2 separate regions of the Homo sapiens genome follow, and region 1 is linked to region 2. The links are contacts of gene promoters, found by promoter capture Hi-C in blood cells and fetal thymus (Javierre and others, 2016). All regions are on one chromosome and are shown on one strand. Each heading gives the region's core, a stretch centred on a gene start or on the middle of the fragment in contact. The rest is flanking DNA. Distances are from core to core; before and after follow the strand shown.

Region 1 (5,210 bases), core at 2,225-4,724, 420 kb before region 2:
GACTGAAGCCCTGCTGTATGGACCACGTATACATCAGACATTGTCAGTGAGTAAATAATATACCTCAAAACATCTTTATATTTTTTTCAAATATGAACATTCTAATTTTATGAGTTATGAAAATCATTTAACTTTAACCATAAGGGATTTCTCCATAATTTACCTACAGGCCCCCAAAATGGGGATGAATAAACAGCATGTATTTTTTATATATATATAATATATGTATATATATATACATATGTGTGTGTGTGTATAACATACATGTGTGTATATTATATATATGCACACACATTATTTATATGTTTGTGTGTATGTGTGTGTATAGCTATACCCACATTACATAGTGACCATCTCTCTATAATACATAGTTTATTGCAAAGTAATATGGTATAATTATATTTCTATGTAGTGCAATGTCACAGCCTCTACTCATCTTAAAGGAGAATGCTCAAATGGGCTGTCCTTTTATACAATTCACTAGGTGTAACATTAATTATAAATATTTATATTAATTAATATTACCAATAAAGGAGCTACAAGTAGTGATAAATTATATTGGGAGGAGGAGGAGGGATGGTGGGAAGAGGTAGATGAAACATATCCTTATTTGTTACAGCAGGAAGTCAATAGTTAAATTACAAAATTGATAAACCAAGAAATAACTATGTACAATTATTATTGAAGAAAATCAACTACCAGAAACACTAAAACCAAATGATTAAAAGTGATTATCTCTGTGATCAGAACCATGTTTAGCCTCCTGTTCAATTAGATTTTTAAAACTATGTATTTATTTTTTATTTAAAAATAATGCAGTATAAATTAATAATTGTCTTACAATTTTGAACAAATGTTACTGAATTTATAATTACTATTTTGTCATTGCATATTTTCATTTATGAATATTAAAAATAAACACTATTATGTAAAGACCTAAAATTTTGGTGAAAAAGTGATTTTCATATTTGAAATATAGTGGGAGATAGAATAATAGAAAATGTAAAGAAAGACTATTAGTAAAATTGATGATTTTTCTTTTTTTCACTGTTTAAGAAATTTTTATTAAAGCAAGAATTTTATAATCCAAACCATGTTTCCTTGCTCAGTTATCAATTCTGTTACTTAAAACAGAATGGACATTTTGAGCTATTCCACAGTAAAGAATTAAAAAATTAAAGGAATGCTTTAAATTTTTGTACTTTGCTGAAAATTCTTTTCCCAGGGTCTACAAAACATTAACTGGTTTTTGTATTTTACGATTTTTTGTTTTTAAATCAAAATTAAGTAATCTTTTTTTTGTTTTTAAATCAATAAGTAATCTAGGACTAGCATTATATTTGCTAGACCTTGCATTTGCTCGGTACATAAGGTTCAAAGTTTCCTTTCCATTTTTTATTTTAGATTTTGCATTTTTTATTTTAGATTTTGCAATTTTTTTTCCCATAGTTTCTCGATGTTTAGATATTTTTCTTCGGTGAAGCACAAATTTCTTTTCGTGGTCTCTGATCAATTTTAAACAGTTGGAACACCGGTAGCACTGTTAACTGCTTTCTGGGTAGCCTCTTTAGCTTGGTGGGCTTGTAGTACAGCTACAGCTTCATCAACCTTAGAACGGAGTGACTCTGGAGACTCGAGCATATAAAGAAGTTCTGAATTATCAATCTCCAACAACATGCCAGTGATTTTCCCAGCAAGAGTAGGGTGCATGGCTTGAATAAGAGGAAAGAGCCGTTCACCTAACATTTGCTTTTGCTTTTGAGGAGGGGCAGATGCCAACCTGGAGGCAGTCAAAGTTTCCTGACCTTGTACATGAACAGCAAGCTGTTGCATTGTAACTTGTGGCTGTGCATTACGATGTTGCTGAGGATTGCGAACTCCCGCAGCATATTTATACCGTGGAACCGTGCGCACAGCAGGGGTAGCTGCAGCAGCAGCAGCAGCTGCAGGACGTGGACCCACTGTCTGTGTTGATGTGTTAGCAACACGCTGCGTTGACATGACTCGTGGAACCTGTGAAGAAGCTGGTCTCATAGTACTAAATGGTACTCTAGGAGCACCTGGGCGGATAGCACTGGGCTTATTTTGGAATGGATGAGGTCTGGCACCCTGAGCAGTCCAGCGAGGACTTGGTCTTAGTCGAGCAATTTGGCTAGGAGGATAGTATGCAGCATGGTTCTGAGTCTGTGGGACAGCTGTCATGAAGTAACCTGAAGGAGGTGCTCGCTGGTTGGGCACAGCTCGTACACTTGCCATTCTCTGCATATACTCGTTAGTGAGGTAAGCCTGGCGCTCTTCTTTGCGCTGAGCTAAAGCTACATACAATGGCTTTGTGGCCACAATTCTACCGTTCATTTCTGTAACTGCTTTAGTGGCTTCTTCTGGGGAGGAGAAACATACAAAACCAAACCCTTTGCTGCGACCACCTTCCATCATAACCTTTGCACTAGTGATTGTACCAAATGGAGAAAACGCTTTCCGGAGACGTTCATCATCAATACCATCATCAAGATTTTTCACATAAAGATTAACAACCTGGTATCTGGTGATCCTATCTTGCTTCATCTGTTCAAATGTGCGCTTAAGTTCCGTCTGCCGTTCCACTTTTTTCTGAGCTCGACCAACGTAAATTTGTTTTCCATTGAGCTCCTTTCCATTCATCTCATCTACAGCTTTCTGTGCATCTTCATGCCTTTCAAAGCTTACAAATCCAAATCCTTTGGATTTTCCACTTTCATCGGTCATTACTTTCACACTTAAGGCGGGCCCGAACTTGCCAAAGAGATCCTTAAGGCGCTCATCATCCATGTCTTCTCCAAAATTCTTGATGTAAACATTGGGGAACTCTTTTGCCCTAGCTCCAAGTTCAGCTTCTCGTTCTTTACGAGACTTAAATTGTCCAACAAATACTTTGCGACCATTTAGGAGCATTCCGTTCATTTTTTTAATAGCTCTTTCAGCTGCTTCGTGTGTCTCAAAGTGTACAAATCCATAACCCTTGGAACCATTTTCATCACAAACCACGTTACACGAAAGGATGTTACCAAAAGCAGAAACTGTATCATACAGTGCTTTATTATTAATGGACTTATCCAGATTTTTAACGAATATGTTGCCCACTCCACTTTTTCGAAGTGATGGATCACGCTGAGACCACATGATGCGTACTGGCTTGCCCTTTATAACATCAAAATTCATGGTGTCCAGAGCATGCTCCGCGTCCTTCGTATGCTGGAAGTTCACATACGCGTAGTTGGAGGAGCCGCTGGTGATCAAGTCCCTGCAGATCCGGATGGAGAGGATGGGCCCTGCCGGGCTGAACTTCTCGTAGAGCATCGCCTCAGTCACGTCGGGGTGGAGGTCCCCCACGTAGAGCGAGGCCGTTGGGTAGCTGGGGGTGCTGGGGTTCATTCTCGGCACGGCTGCCCGCAGGCACACAAGCCGCGACCTTTCCGTTACAGGAGTAGAGCGCGTGCCGGGGCCGGGGGCGTAGCCGGAGGGAGGGGAGCGGGGGCAAGCGCAGAGGGACAAAAATCAGCCGAAATCGAAAACTACTCAACGGCCGCAGAACGGGGTCGATCCGCTGCCGCTGGCTGCCGGCTGCCGGCGGGGAGCCAGGGTAGCGGTGTCGGGTCCGGGCAGCAGGAAGGCCTTGGTCTCTTAGTTCCTTCTTGGAGCTGCTGCGGGGCCGCTGGCGGGCGGCTCGGGCTCAGCTGCTTCACCGGGTTATTTTGTAAAAGAGCATTAATGATTTTTCTAAAATGATTTTTATAATCCAAATTTAAAATGCCTGGGAAAAAAATAAATGAAAGAATTTTTTTCTCCTTTCTCCTTTAGTATGTTTTTATATATGTTCTACTTTACACAAATATATTTTTATAAAATATTTTCTACTTTTTACCTCGTCTCTACTAAAATTACAAAAAATTAGCTGGGCTTGATGTGCTCACCTGTAATCCCAGCTACTCGGGAGGCCTAGGCACGAGAATCGCTTGAACCCGGGAGGTGGAGGTTGCAGTGAGCAGAGATCGCGCCACTGCCCTCTAGTCTGGGTGACAGAGCGAGACTATCTCAAACAAACAAACAAACAAACAAAAAACCCCGAAAAACCGACTTTTTATATTATATAACAATATAAAACATAATAAATATGTAATTTTATTTTTCATTTATTTATTTTTATTTTACTTATTTATTTTTGAGACGGAGTTTTGCTCTGTCACCCAGGCTGGAGTGCAGTGGTGCGATCTCGGCTCACTGCAACCTCCACCTCCCAGGTTCAAGCGATTCTCCTGCCTCAGCTTCTAAAGTAGCTGGGATTACAGGCACCCACCACCAAGCCTGGCTAATTTTTTGTATTTTTAGTAGAGACGGGGTTTCACCATCTTGGCCAGGCTGATCTTGAACTCCTGACCTCGTGATCCACCCACCTCGGCCTCCCAAAGTGCTGGGATTACAGGCGTAAGCCACCGTGCCCGACCAATAAATATGTAATGTTAATATAGTATTATATGATATAGTCTTTTGAGGTCAGGTTGGGATTCATTATTAAGTATACGTTTTATGATTATAAGTACACAATCTTGTGACCTAATATAGCTACACATCTAAGTAAGTGATGATCTGAAATAATTCTATTTAAGAAAATCCTTTAAGAAAGGTCCAGTCCCACAAAAAATATCAGTTTGGGGGAGGATCTGTTCATTCTGTTCATGTTACAAATAATTTATTTTAGGGTTTTTTGTTTGTTTGTTTGTTTAGATAGAGTCTCGTTCTGTCACCCAGGCTGTAGTGCAGTGGTGCGATCTTGGTTCACCGCAACCTCCACCTCCCGGGTTCAAGGGATTCTAGCGCCTCAGCCTCCCGAATAGCTGGGATTACAGGCAGGCACTACCACGCCTGGCTAATTTTTGTATTGTTTTTAGTAGAAACGGGGTTTCGCCTTGTTGGCTAGGCTGGTCTAGAATTCCTGACCTCAGGTGATCCGCCCACCTACGCCTGCCAAAGCTCTGGGATTACAGGCGTGAGCCGCCGCGCCTAGCCTAGAGTAGAGGGTTTCTTTAAATAGTGGTTGCCACTAATATAAAATTCAATTAAAAGTTTAAAAATGAAGTTGATACACAGCTTTTTAGGAGCACGTCCATCATTTCAACAATGTGGTCTTGTAAAAACCAAGTGCTAGGAAGGGTGTGGTTACTCAACAATATGAG
Region 2 (5,217 bases), core at 1,731-4,230:
CTGCCAAGGACGGTGGGGACAATCCAGCCCATCTCAAGCTCCGTGTAGAAGTTTCCCCTTCGGTGTTCCCAAGATAAAATCTGTCACATTTCAGACCCAAGGCAGTTTTATTATTAAAGTGGCCAGTTTGGGCTGGACACAGTGGCTCACGCCTGTAATCCCAGCACTTTGGGAAGCTGAGGCGGGTGGATCATCTGAGGTCAGGAGTTCGAGAGCAGCCTGGCCAACATGGGGAAACCCCGTCTCTACTAAAAACAACAAAAATTAGCTGGGTGTGATGGCGGGCGCCTGTAATCCCAGTGACTCGGGAGGCCGAGGCAAGAGAATCGCTTGAACCCAGGAGGTGGAGGTTGCAGTGAGCCTAGATAGCGCCATTGCACTCCAGCCTGGGCAACAAGAGCGAAACTCTGTCTCAAAAAAAAAAAAAAGGCTAGTTTTAATAACTCCAGAGCTCTTCCTTAATAATAATAATATTGTACTCCCCTAAAGCACGTGAATTACAAAATCCTCATCTCATTTTTTCCCCTCATAGACCCCAGCAAATTATTTATTTCCCATTTTACATAAAGGAAATGGACCTTCAGTGAGGGTCAGTCATTTGTTGCCAGTTTCAGCTCAGTGGAGAAGTGGGACTCTGATGGGGCCCGAGGTCCTCCCAATCCAAGCTCCACATTTTTACCACTGAAACTGCTTTTCCATGAGGTTTCACACCTGCAATCTAGCATGGCCTAGGGGCTTTGGTTTTCCTCCTCAGAAGTTCCAGCTCAAATAGTTTTACTAATCAATTGAAAACTGGCAAGTGGTTACTTAACTCTCACTGAAGCAGCTGCGGGGAGAGAGGTCTGGCCATGCCTGTGGGGCCTGGAATCAGAGGCTCTTCCTTCTGAGTTCTACAGGGACTGCCTCCAACCAGAATGCAGGAATCCTGCAGAGGCCCTGACCTCTGGGTGGATACTATCACACCATTCAAAACACACACACACACATACACACACCACACACCACACACACACCACACACCACACATATACACCACACACTACACACACACCACACGCTACACACACACCACACATACCATGCACATACACACACCACACATACACACCACACACTACACACACACCACACGCTACACACACACCACACATACCATGCACATACACACACCACACACACCACACACATATATACCACACACATACACACACCACACACATACACACACCACACACACACCACACACATATACACACCACACACACACACCACACACACATCACACACACATCACACACACCACACATACACACACCATACACACACACCATACACACACACCACACACATACACACACCACACACTACACACACCATATACACACACCACACACCATACACACACACCACACACCATACACCACACACCACACATACACACACACACCACACACTACACAGACACACCACACATACACACACACCACACATACACCACACACACACACCACACAGACACACCACGCAGACACCACACACCACACACAATCTCAAGGGGATTTCAAATCCCTCAGACTGAATGTCTGTGGTAAGAGGTGGGTTCTAGGGGCAAGCTCTTGCGGGGAAGGGCCATAGCCGGCAGGACCCCGTGGCTTAAGGCTACTGACCAGATGGAGTTCTTTCTGAAACTCCTCTTTGTGATTTTTCTTTTTGAGTTCCAGGCAGTTGTTCTTCAGACCCCTATACTTCTCCTTGCCATCCCCCTTGTCTGTTTTCACGATGTCCTTAGTTCCGCTGAGCTCCACGGAGTAAATTTCTGGGGTTTTCTGAAAGAGAAGCCCAGGTGCAATATTGGCCCCAAATGGGGTTTCCGAAGAGGTGCTGAGCGCCCCTCTGCGGGGTCAGGACCTGCAGGAGTCAGGAGCCCCTTCTCCCTTTCCTTCCCTCCTCTGGGGAGGCCGGAGGGAGTCGGACAGTGGAGTCTCTCCCCCACCTCCCGCCGACCTTGGCTTCCTCTCCGTCCGTGTAGAGGGGAGGCGGGGTGGGCACAGGCCAGCCAGCAGCTCCTCAGGGTGACCCTTCTCTGGGTGGAGCAGGTGGGAAGTTACCCCCCCAACTCCTGACTGATGCCTCCAAGGAGCTGTGAGGTTTCCTTAGAACCTCGAGGTTCCTTAGGCACCTCGAGGTTTCCTCTGAGGTGTCCTTCCCAGGGGACACAACAGCTGTGCGTCCTGTTTCTTGGGGAGGAGGCACCCACTAAGCTTACGACCCTCAGTCCTGATCAGGGGGCCCTAACCGGAAGTCTTTTCAGACCGCAACGAATCCATGTCACCCCATCCTCCGAGTCGGAGCCCGCAGGTGCCATGGAGCTGGCCTAGGACCCCTTGGCCCCTTCTCGCTCCTCTGGACTGGCTTCTTTCCCCAGCCAGCCCCGGCGGCCGCACGGAGCCGTGGCGGGGAGTCAGAGAAGCGGTGCCCAGGCCGGGGGGCGCTCAGAGGAAAGGCGGCCTCCCCTTGCCCCGGGACGGGGCGTTTCTCCTCTTCGCCTTTTCCTCGCTTCCCGTCAGCCTGCTCCGGTCCCCGGGGCCTTGGCCCAGCGTCTCGCATCCTCGGCCGGCGCGGGGGCTGCACGCACCTGGTGCATGCTGGGCTGGTGGCGCCGCGGGCTGCGGGCGTGGAGCGCGGATCCGGGACCGCAGCGGCGGAGCGCACGGTGGGGGGCCTCGTGTGGCTGTGGCAGTGGCAGTGGCTGAGGTGTTGGCGGTGGAGATACCGGCGGCGGCGCGGGCCCTGCACGCACCTCCGCGGCCGATCGCCAGCCGCTGCACCGGGGAGGTGGCACCAGCCTTAAATGCCGCCCGCCCCGCCCACGTCCCCGCCAGGGCGCAGGCCAGCGGACGCCTCGGAGGGTAGGAAACCCGCCGGCGCGCGCGCAGGGAGGGGGACCGACAGCTAGGGGTCGGGAGAGTCCAGGATTGAGGACCCCCTGGGAATCCCCTTCCCTTTAGTAGCCGAACGCCAGGGGGCGGGGTCTCTAGGGGGCGGGTCCGGCATCCAGGTGAGTACAGCCCTGGTTCCGCTGGGCGCCCAGAGCCGGACCAGCTGCTCCGGCGAGCTCCCGGCACGCCCACGTCCTGTCCAGGCTTCCCTGAAAACCCACACATGCCTTTTTTTAAAAATGTAATTTGCCTACCAATAAATCAATTTATAAAAATGTGTATGCAGAGAAGGGGAAATTGCAGTTTCTAACAGCAACTACTGTTGGAGATGTCCCGGCTAGAAAAGGCCAATGTGTTTTTGAGAATGGATTTAGATAGGTAAATTCAAGCTTCCGAGAGAATTTGGGAATAACTGAGAGACTCTGAAGAGTAGCTGAATTAATTTGCCGGATCCAGATAAGAATTTGGAATTCTGAAACAATTTGGAGAGGGAATGGGGAGGAGAGATGAGAGGATTAGGGTCGGTGAGACCACAGGAACCTGGGGCCCCAGGCTGCGGGTGCGCAGGAGCGGAGGCTGTTGGCTGGACTGGGCTGGAGAGGTCTGTCTCCACCTATTTATGTCACTCCCAGCTGAGACTCTATACATGAAGGAGAAAAGAATTTCTGACCCTGAAAGTTGATGTGCATACTAAAGCAGTGGTTGTTTTATACTGCTAAGTTTGGGTTGGTTTGTTATGCAGCAATAGATAACTGGGACATGCTCCATGCTCTTAGTGCCCAGCATGAGTTTTTGCACAGGATAGAAAAGGTATTTTCCCCCTGACACTTGAAACATAATTACTCCAGATGAGAAAGATAGCCTGAAAACAATATATCAGAGAGATATTTAGCAGTTAACAGTGGAGGAAATCAAACACGTTCTTTTAAAAGAATGAATCGTGAAGTCTTAAAGTCAGTGAAGAATATTAATTAATGGAGAGGAACATAAAAAATAAAACCCACGAATAGAGTTTAGTAATCAGCACCTATTTAGAAGAACAATAAGAAATTGACATGATTGAAATATATGAAAGGGAGTAGAGATAAGTTTCAAAAGAGGGGGCACTTTATTGGGCCCTTGATGCTCTGCTAATAAGTTTCCATTTAGATAAGGACTAATAGGAGGGTGCTAAGTTTTATTCTTTTTGAAAGTTATATATCAAATATGGTAAGAAAGATTGTCATTTTGACCATATTTAAAATGACTAAGAGTGAGGAGTCCAGAGAAGCAGCAAAAGTAACAATCCCATCATGCAGTGACTAGAACATCTGGCAGAAAACATGAAGAGCATTGGGTACATTTAGAAAAGGTAGAAGAAAAACAATAAGCTTGTGCCCGGCCGGGCGCGGTGGCTCACGCCTGTAATCCCAACGCTTTGGGAGGCCGAGGCGGGCGGATCACGAAGTCAGGAGATCGAGACCATCCTGGCTAACACGGTGAAACCCCATCTCTACTAAAAATACAAAACAATTAGCCGGGCATGGTGGTGGGCGCCTGTAGTCCCAGCTGCTCGGGAGGCTGAGGCAGGAGAATGGCATGAACCCGGGAGACGGTGGAGCTTTCAGTGAGTGGAGATCGCGCCACTGCACTCCAGCCTGGGCGACAGAGCGAGACTCTGTCACAATAAAAAAATTAAAAAAAAAATAAGAAAAAAAAGCTTGTGCCCAATTCTAATTAGGAATTAATTATAACTTCCTGTTCCTTTCAGATGCTAAATTTCCATAATAATTTCAGAGCATGACTATAGTTGGTGGTGAGGGACAATTGGGAAAAGAAGCTTATTTTGAGGGAATTTGAAGTGTTAGCAGTTAGAGACGTGGTTTTGTAAAGTAGCAGTAGAGACAAAGATACTTTCTCATGGCATATTTGTGATCTTAGATTTTCCACACCTCTCTGTTCATCATGGCTTTCAAATGAGACTAAGGGAATGTGTTGTACCCGACATAGTGAACTGTCTCCATAGTGCTGCACACATAGGTCTTTCCCCGCTCTCCCTCCTTCTTCCGTTCCAAAAGGGCAGAATCTGAAGCCTGGGTTCCTCCCTCTGTGAAGCAAGGATGACAGCAATGAGTCACTTCTTAACTAAAATGATAAGGGACAGGAAGACTCCTAGTGGCATCTGGTGTAAAGATACACATCATGGATTCTCTAGAGTTGGAGGGAACATTAAATTCTAGTCCAAACCCAAGCAACAGTGTGCTTCTGGGGAGCTCTGGGTTCCATTCTTGGAATACTC

What was found. The method cuts DNA at HindIII sites, captures the fragments that hold promoters and counts their contacts. A CHiCAGO score of 5 or more calls a contact.
Region 1: the fragment with the promoter of PABPC3 here is called in contact with the fragment with the promoter of ATP12A in region 2 in 5 of 17 cell types (erythroblasts, neutrophils, naive B cells and 2 more); the score reaches 5.9 in erythroblasts.

The regions. Positions count from the first base shown.
Region 1 is chr13:25,094,400-25,099,609 of GRCh38, reverse strand. It overlaps PABPC3 (poly(A) binding protein cytoplasmic 3), which reads right to left and starts at 3,474. Exons shown (of 1, transcript NM_030979.3): 1 at 356-3,474. The coding sequence starts at 3,411. The coding sequence ends at 1,516. It overlaps LOC124900613 (a long non-coding RNA gene), which reads right to left and starts at 3,990. Exons shown (of 3, transcript XR_941762.3): 1 at 3,951-3,990. RefSeq lists a silencer at 3,265-3,559. The HindIII fragment of the contact is 7,788 bases long and covers 2,704-5,210 here.
Region 2 is chr13:24,678,171-24,683,387 of GRCh38, reverse strand. ATP12A (ATPase H+/K+ transporting non-gastric alpha2 subunit) reads right to left here and starts at 2,980. Exons shown (of 23, transcript NM_001676.7): 1 at 2,636-2,980; 2 at 1,668-1,826. The coding sequence starts at 2,644. RefSeq lists enhancers at 1-247, 248-749, 849-1,429 and a silencer at 2,623-2,932. The HindIII fragment of the contact is 1,067 bases long and covers 2,264-3,330 here.